2 separate regions of the Homo sapiens genome follow, and region 2 is linked to region 1. The links are contacts of gene promoters, found by promoter capture Hi-C in blood cells and fetal thymus (Javierre and others, 2016). All regions are on one chromosome and are shown on one strand. The core of a region is centred on a gene start or on the middle of the fragment in contact, and the rest is flanking DNA. Distances in the headings are between cores, read along the strand shown.

What was found. The method cuts DNA at HindIII sites, captures the fragments that hold promoters and counts their contacts. A CHiCAGO score of 5 or more calls a contact.
Region 2: a contact is called between a fragment that was not itself captured here and the fragment with the promoter of PAQR5 in region 1, in 1 of 17 cell types (endothelial precursors). The highest score is 5.1, in endothelial precursors.

Annotation. Positions count from the first base shown.
Region 1 is chr15:69,296,896-69,300,161 of GRCh38, forward strand. It overlaps PAQR5 (progestin and adipoQ receptor family member 5), which reads left to right and starts at 2,017. Exons shown (of 9, transcript NM_017705.4): 1 at 2,017-2,161. It overlaps PAQR5-DT (PAQR5 divergent transcript), which reads right to left and starts at 1,868. Exons shown (of 3, transcript NR_184010.1): 1 at 1,583-1,868. The HindIII fragment of the contact is 4,969 bases long and covers 1-3,266 here.
Region 2 is chr15:69,053,248-69,056,513 of GRCh38, forward strand. It overlaps SPESP1-NOX5 (SPESP1-NOX5 readthrough), which reads left to right. Exons shown (of 17, transcript NR_033672.2): 16 at 2,087-2,253. It overlaps NOX5 (NADPH oxidase 5), which reads left to right. Exons shown (of 16, transcript NM_024505.4): 15 at 2,087-2,253. Among named protein-coding and RNA genes, the nearest start is that of EWSAT1, 26 kb to the right of the region's middle. The HindIII fragment of the contact is 4,332 bases long and covers 1-3,266 here.

The sequences.
Region 1 (3,266 bases), core at 767-3,266:
CTCAAATCCAGCATAGATTCCTGAAGTCCTGGGTCCAAGTTCTAGCTCTGCTACTGACTTCTTGTGACTGTGTGACCTTGGGCAGGTCACTTTCCCTCTCTGGGCCTCCATTTCATCACTATGAAATAGGAGTGTTGAACACAATACTCTAAATGCATCTCCATGTGGTCTAAGTACCCCCCTCCCCGGCCCCTCCCTGCCCTTCCCCCTCCTCTGATCATCCTGTGTGCTCACCATCCACAATCCCCTCTCCTGGCTCCACATCATTCTCCAAAGGGTTCATGTTCAATCATTCAGTTAGACTTTAAACTCCCTAAGAGCAGAGGAGGGTGATTTTGGCCAAGATATGCAGATCGATTCATCAGTAATCCACTGACCACCTCCATTTAGGTTGGGAGCCTCTTTATCTTCCCTCTTTAGTTTCTTCAAGGTGCACACACAGATACCTACAGCAGGCAGGAATCCAGGTGGGGCACCAGGCATCTCTGCTCACCTTGGCTGCTGGTGGTGGGGTGCCTGCCTGTGCTGTGCATGCTGCAGCTTTGGCAGGGTGGCCAATCAGTCCAGTGCCAGCCTTTGCCTCCCAGAGAATGCTTCACACCCTATTCTTCCCCCAAACCCATCACTGGCCCAGACATCAAAAGCACACATCCCTGTGCTATTCCCCTTCAAAGAGCTTCATATCTAATATCTCACTGAGTCCCCCGACTAGCCTTGGAAAGGCAAAGCAGGGATTATTAATCTCCATTTTGTAGATGGTGAGGGTCTTGTCCAAGGCTACTCTGAATTCAGCATAGAGCTGGGACTGGGCTCCACTCTTGTGTCCAGTCATTCTTGTCAAACTCTGGTCTGTGGAATATACATGCCTGCCTCTGTGTAGGCCCCAGTCTCTTTCCCTTTAAGAACTTGGGTCTGAGAGGACAAGCGCATGTCGCACGCACACACACACGCACATGCATACACACCCTTACAAGATGCACAGCCACCAAAAAGCCTAATAAAGCAAGGTGCCCAAGACCACGGTTCAGGATCCGTAAAAATGGCCGGAGATAATTGACTGCAACCTATTCACTGCAAATGGGGCAACTTGGGCCCACAAAGGGCCAGAGACTTGACCCGAGTCACAGAGTAGACTAGAGCCCAGGTCTCTGGACTCCCAGTCCTGTGCTCTCTCCACTGTGTGTGCCCTCAGCAAACAAGGCAAGGCAGGGAGGAGCAGGAGCTCAGAGAGCCTGGGGCTGAAGGGTGGGAGGAAAGAGCCTGGTGGGGGACTTCGGTCCACAGGTGTGGATGTTCCAACCTTTCTCTGGCAGGGTCGGGGTGGGGGCACCAGGTAGCTGCAACCTGTTCCTTCAGCACCTGGGAGGAGACACAGAGTCTGGTTCCCTGAAGCCAAATGTTTCTTCTTTGTCCTCTGTGTCCCTTCATCTCTTATAGCTGTGTCCACTGAGTGGCAGAGGTCCAGGCCCAGCGCCTTCCAGTCTAGGAGCCTGTGACCTGGGACAGGATCCCTGGGGAAAGGGTGAGGGCTGGCAAAGGGCCCGCCACCCTGAGCACTCCAAGAGACAGGGGTGGAACTCACTTCAAGGATTCAGGGCGGCGAGGATCCTCTCCCACCGGCGAAGCGGACACCGCGGTGGGGCTGCGAGTACCCAGTTGTTGTTTTTTTCTCCTTCCCTGTTCTCCACCCCATGCACTTTTCCGAGGGGCAAGCTCCGCAGTTCTCCCATCAAGGAGGCTCTCCAGGCTCCCTGCCGGCCTTCGGCTCCTGGGGTGGAGGTGGGCGTGGGGTACATGGGCCCTAGGAGAATGGGGTGTGAGAGACTCCCCTGGGCTTATGGCTTTGGTGGCACCTCAGGCTGTGGAATGGGGTGGCGAGTCTTTGGAAGTCACAGAGCCCAGGGTCGGTGGCACGTGATGAGGCGCAGGCCTGGCTCAGGGGGTGGTGCCCACGGCCCTCGGCTCCTCCCCCGGGGCCGCCCCGCCCCGCGCGGGAGGGGACGGGCGGGGACCGGCATGGGTAGGCGCGGCGACCCGCAGGGCCAGGTGCAGGGCCCGCGAGTCCGGGGTCGCCGCAGCCCGGGAGGAGTGTCTGGTCTCCGGCCTGCCTGTGCTGTCCCCGCGCCCTGTCCACTGGACTCCCGAGACCCTTGGAACCCAGGTAACCCGGGGCGGGACTCCCCGCCGCGCGCCGCCTCCCCACCTCCCGGTCCACGCGCACCCGCCCTCCGCGGCAGCCCCAGCCGCCCTGCGCCCGTGGAGCCCGTTGAGCCTGGGTGGCCGCTCCGAGGGCGGGTCTGGGAAAGTTTGTGCCGGGGCGGCCCTGATCCGGCGGCGGCGCGGCTCGGCCACTTTCACCGCACGCGGGGCCGGTGTGAAGGTGGGGCGGCCGCCGCCGTGCAGAAGGCTCTCTGCTGCAATCGAGGGCGGTGAGGGGAGCTGTTGCCTTCTCGCACCTTTTCTCTCACTCTCCAGGGCGTTTGCGCCGCTTATCCTTCCTCCACCGCCCCCCTCCCGCCGCCCCCACTTTAATAAAACCCTTGGATTGGGGCTGCACAGTTGGCGATTTCTTTACACCTGTGCTTCCCGCCTCCTGAGCCCAGATGTGAGCCTGGGCTGAGCAGGACCGTGTGGGTGAGGGGCGGCCCACTGCCTGCGGGGGTCGTCCCGGCCCTGTTGAAGTGGGTGCCCAGCTACAGGGAGTTCCCCCTGCTCTGTCATTGGCCTCCCCCCGGCCACAGCCCCCAGCTGGGCATCTCCTGGCTCCCCTAGCACTTCCCAAGTCCTAGTCGGATGAGCCCAGGAGAGGGGGTGGACCCCGGCCCAGCAGAACAAGAACTCAGGAGCCCGGTAACTCTTATCCGTGAGCAGAACCGGCTTCCTCCCGCTTAGGTTGGGAGGAGGGCTCAGCTTAGTGGGAGTCGGGGGTGACAACTGCCCCTTCCCACGCAGAGCCATAGAGAAGAGATGGGGAGAGGTCAGGGGATCTGAGAAGAGCTAGCAGCCAAAAAGGGACACATCCCTGATTTCATTTGAACCTAACAAACCAATGGCGAGTAGATATTAACACATGGGCAGATGAGAAGACAAGGAGGCCCAACAAAGCTCAGCCATTTGCTGGAGAAACTGGTGGGCTTTTCTCCACCACTGAGTGGCGGGTTTCCCACCGCATCCTTCCAGAGCTGCATGGTCGCTTCTGCATTCTTGCAGTGCCCTTGACTCAGCAGAGGTTTGTTTCTTTTACCCCACTCCCCACCCCCCTAGGT
Region 2 (3,266 bases), core at 419-2,918, 240 kb before region 1:
GTTTGCCTTGAAAGCAGTTATCTGAAAAATCTGGATGCTACTAGTACCCACCTCATAGGATTGTCATGGGAATTAGATGAGATGTCATCTGCAGAACACATAGAACAGTGACTGGAGCTTAATAAACTGCTTGATAAATTTAGTGGTGGTGGTGGTGGTAATAGTAACTGCTTAATACATTTATTTGTAGTAGAAGTGCTAGTAGTAATAAGTGTTTAATAAAAGTAGTAGTAGTATTTAATGGCTATATAATGAGTGGTATAGTTAGTGGTTATACCGTAAATTATTTAACCAAGCTCCTACTACTGTACATTTTGTTTATTCCTCATTCTCCATAATCATAAAAATGCCAAAATTAATATATTTGTGCACATAGTTTTTTTCCTTGCTTTGGATGATTTTCTTAGGAAAGTGTCCCAGAAATGAGATGGCTATCTCAAACACAGCTGGATGGAGAGAGTGAGAACCATGCCAGGTCATCCTCCACAGCCCCTTTATCTTCTCCCTCCCACCATGGTGTCTCCCCTTCTCTCCTCTTACCCCTCTCTGGGGTATGGTGACTCTGAGGGAGGGTAAGAAGCAGGGGGTCCCCCAGGTGGGCATCTCATAATACATCTCCCTCCCTCCCACACCATCCAGCACGACTAGGGGTTAAGTGACATGTGACATGAAATGTGCTAGCCCTCCTAGGGCCATTTGCATTGTAACAGCAGCTGAGACCTTAGGCCAAATGAAAAATGAGCTGATGGTGACTTAGGAAACAATAGAGAGCAGGTTGGAATGGCAAAGCTCCTTTAGTCTGGGTGTAGAGGAAGAGAGGGAGAGGAGAAGGATGAGGTGATCGTCAGTCAGCTCAGAAATGCTCCTTCCCACATCCTAGATCAGGCCCTGCCAACTCTGGCTTGAACCGACGCTCAAGCCTAAGGCAGCACTCACCAATCTTTTTCTCACCATGGCATACATAAAAATGATAACATTCATATGTCATGTCTGGTTATGGAACACGGAGGTGCCCACCTGGGAGCCCCTGAGTGCTGAAACATCAGTATCCCAGCAGACCTATAACTTTGTGGCGCAGAACTGCGGGTGCTCTGGCCTTGTGGGCTCCTTCGTCCCAGTCTCCTTCCCCATCTCTTCAGCTCTCTGATGCCCTTCCTAAAGTGCTGTTTCATTATGTCACACCCTACTCAGTTACTCTCAACCTTCCCCTGTCTCCTAGCTGGGCATTCAAGACCCTTCTCATTCTGGCCTCAATCTGTTTCTAGTCCCATTTCCTTTTGCTCCCATCCGAGGATGCGGCTCCAGCCGGGCACCACACCTTGCCCCGCAAACATCGCGTTTGTTCTAGCCTCTCACTCTGTACTCACACTAGTCCTTCTTAGCATGCCTTCCCTTCACCTCTGCCTTTACTCTCACCCCTTGTCCCAGACCTAACCCAGTCCCCATCCCTTCTGGGAAGCAGCTCTGTCTGCATCAGCCCTTCCCTGCATATCAGTAGCCTTCACGCTATGATCCATTCACTCGACCCTTGACCCTTTAGTCCAAATTACCTTTTCATGTGTGTGTGGCTTGTGTCCCCAGCCAGGCTGAGGACAGACATGTGAGGCATGGAAGGGCATGAGCTTTGGAGCCCAGGGACTGCCATGCTCACTTCCCTGGGATGCATTTCTTCTTCTATAAATACAAAAAGTCTTGGCCAGGCATGGTGGCTCACACCTGTAATCCCAGCACTTTGGGAGGCTGAGGCGGGTGGATTGCTTGAGTTCAAGACCAGCCTGAGCAACATAGTGAAATCCTATCTCCACAAAAATACTAAATAAATAAATATAAAAGATCTAACTCTTGGAGTGGTTGTGAGGTTCACCTTAGTGCATATAAAGTAACCAATGTGTGCCATGTACATAGTAGGCCCAGCTCAAGCAATGGGCTGCCTTTCCTCTCCATGGCACTGGTTACACAACAGATCCTGGGCAAAAGACCTATGGGTCTCCTTCCAAGCCCCAGGGTAAGGTAGTGGTTGGCATCCTGCCCTGCGCCCATGATGGGTACTAGACCCTCAGTGCAGCCCTTGTCCCCTGCCCAACAGGCCGCTTCCTGGAGCTGCATATGTACATGACATCTGCACTGGGCAAGAATGACATGAAGGCCATTGGCCTGCAGATGGCCCTTGACCTCCTGGCCAACAAGGAGAAGAAAGACTCCATCACGGGGCTGCAGACGCGCACCCAGCCTGGGCGGCCTGACTGGAGCAAGGTAATGCCAACTGGAGCCCTGCAGCTTGCAGGTATGGATGAAGCTGAGAGCTCGAGGCAGCGGTGGGGAGACGAGGCCCAAGCTGTCAGGGGCAAAGTGTGAGGTTAAGTCCAGAGTCCAGAAGGGACCTCGTGGTGTGAAAGGTAAACAGGGCACCTACACTGGCTTTATCACTAACCTTTGTTCCATCATTAGCCTCAGTTTCTCCATCTGTTCAGAGAGGAAGTTAGTCTCTATGACCTCAAAGACCCCTGCAGCCTTGACTCCCTATGGACCAGTGTCAAAAGGCCTGAGTGGACAGGGACCTGGAAAAACAACAAATCTTATCATCTCCTGTTACAAATGGGGAAACTGAGGCACAGAGACATGAAATCGTTTGCAATCCTTTTATTTTATTTCTCAGATTGGTTTTATTATTTTTCTTTCCTGAACACTTACTTGTCAGGGTTTGCGGTTTGCAGGAAGTGGCCCAGAAGGTGCTGCTTTTAAAAGTGCTGCAGATGACCCCATGCCTGGGTCATGACAGCTGAGTGGGAGGGGAATGTCTGTGGTGAGTGCTTGGGCATCAAAGAGGACTTTCAGAAAAAGGCAATTCATAAGCAGAATTTGGGGTAGAAAAGGGTCCTCACTGGGGGAAAGACTGACATCAGGAAGGATATTTAAATCACAGCAGGGTGGCCAGCCCTGGGGACTAACACCAGGTTCAGACTCCCATGGGAGTCCCAGAGCACTGTATGCATCTCTCTGCGTGTCTGATTTAGTGCCTGTCTCCCACAGTTGCAGATCCTTGAGTGGAGGGCCTGGGTCTTATTTATTTCTGGCCCTGGTCCTCTACCTGGGGTTCTGGGTCATGTTGCCAGCTGAACAAATGGCTCTTAGTTGAATGGCTGAGTGTTGAACTCTGCTGTAAAACCCAGCAGCTGTGCCATGCAGCTCCCTGTGTAAAATGGGAATGCTCATTGCTGCCGACCCGTTATGCTGTTACCTCCAGGTGGTTGTGTCACTGGTGAGTC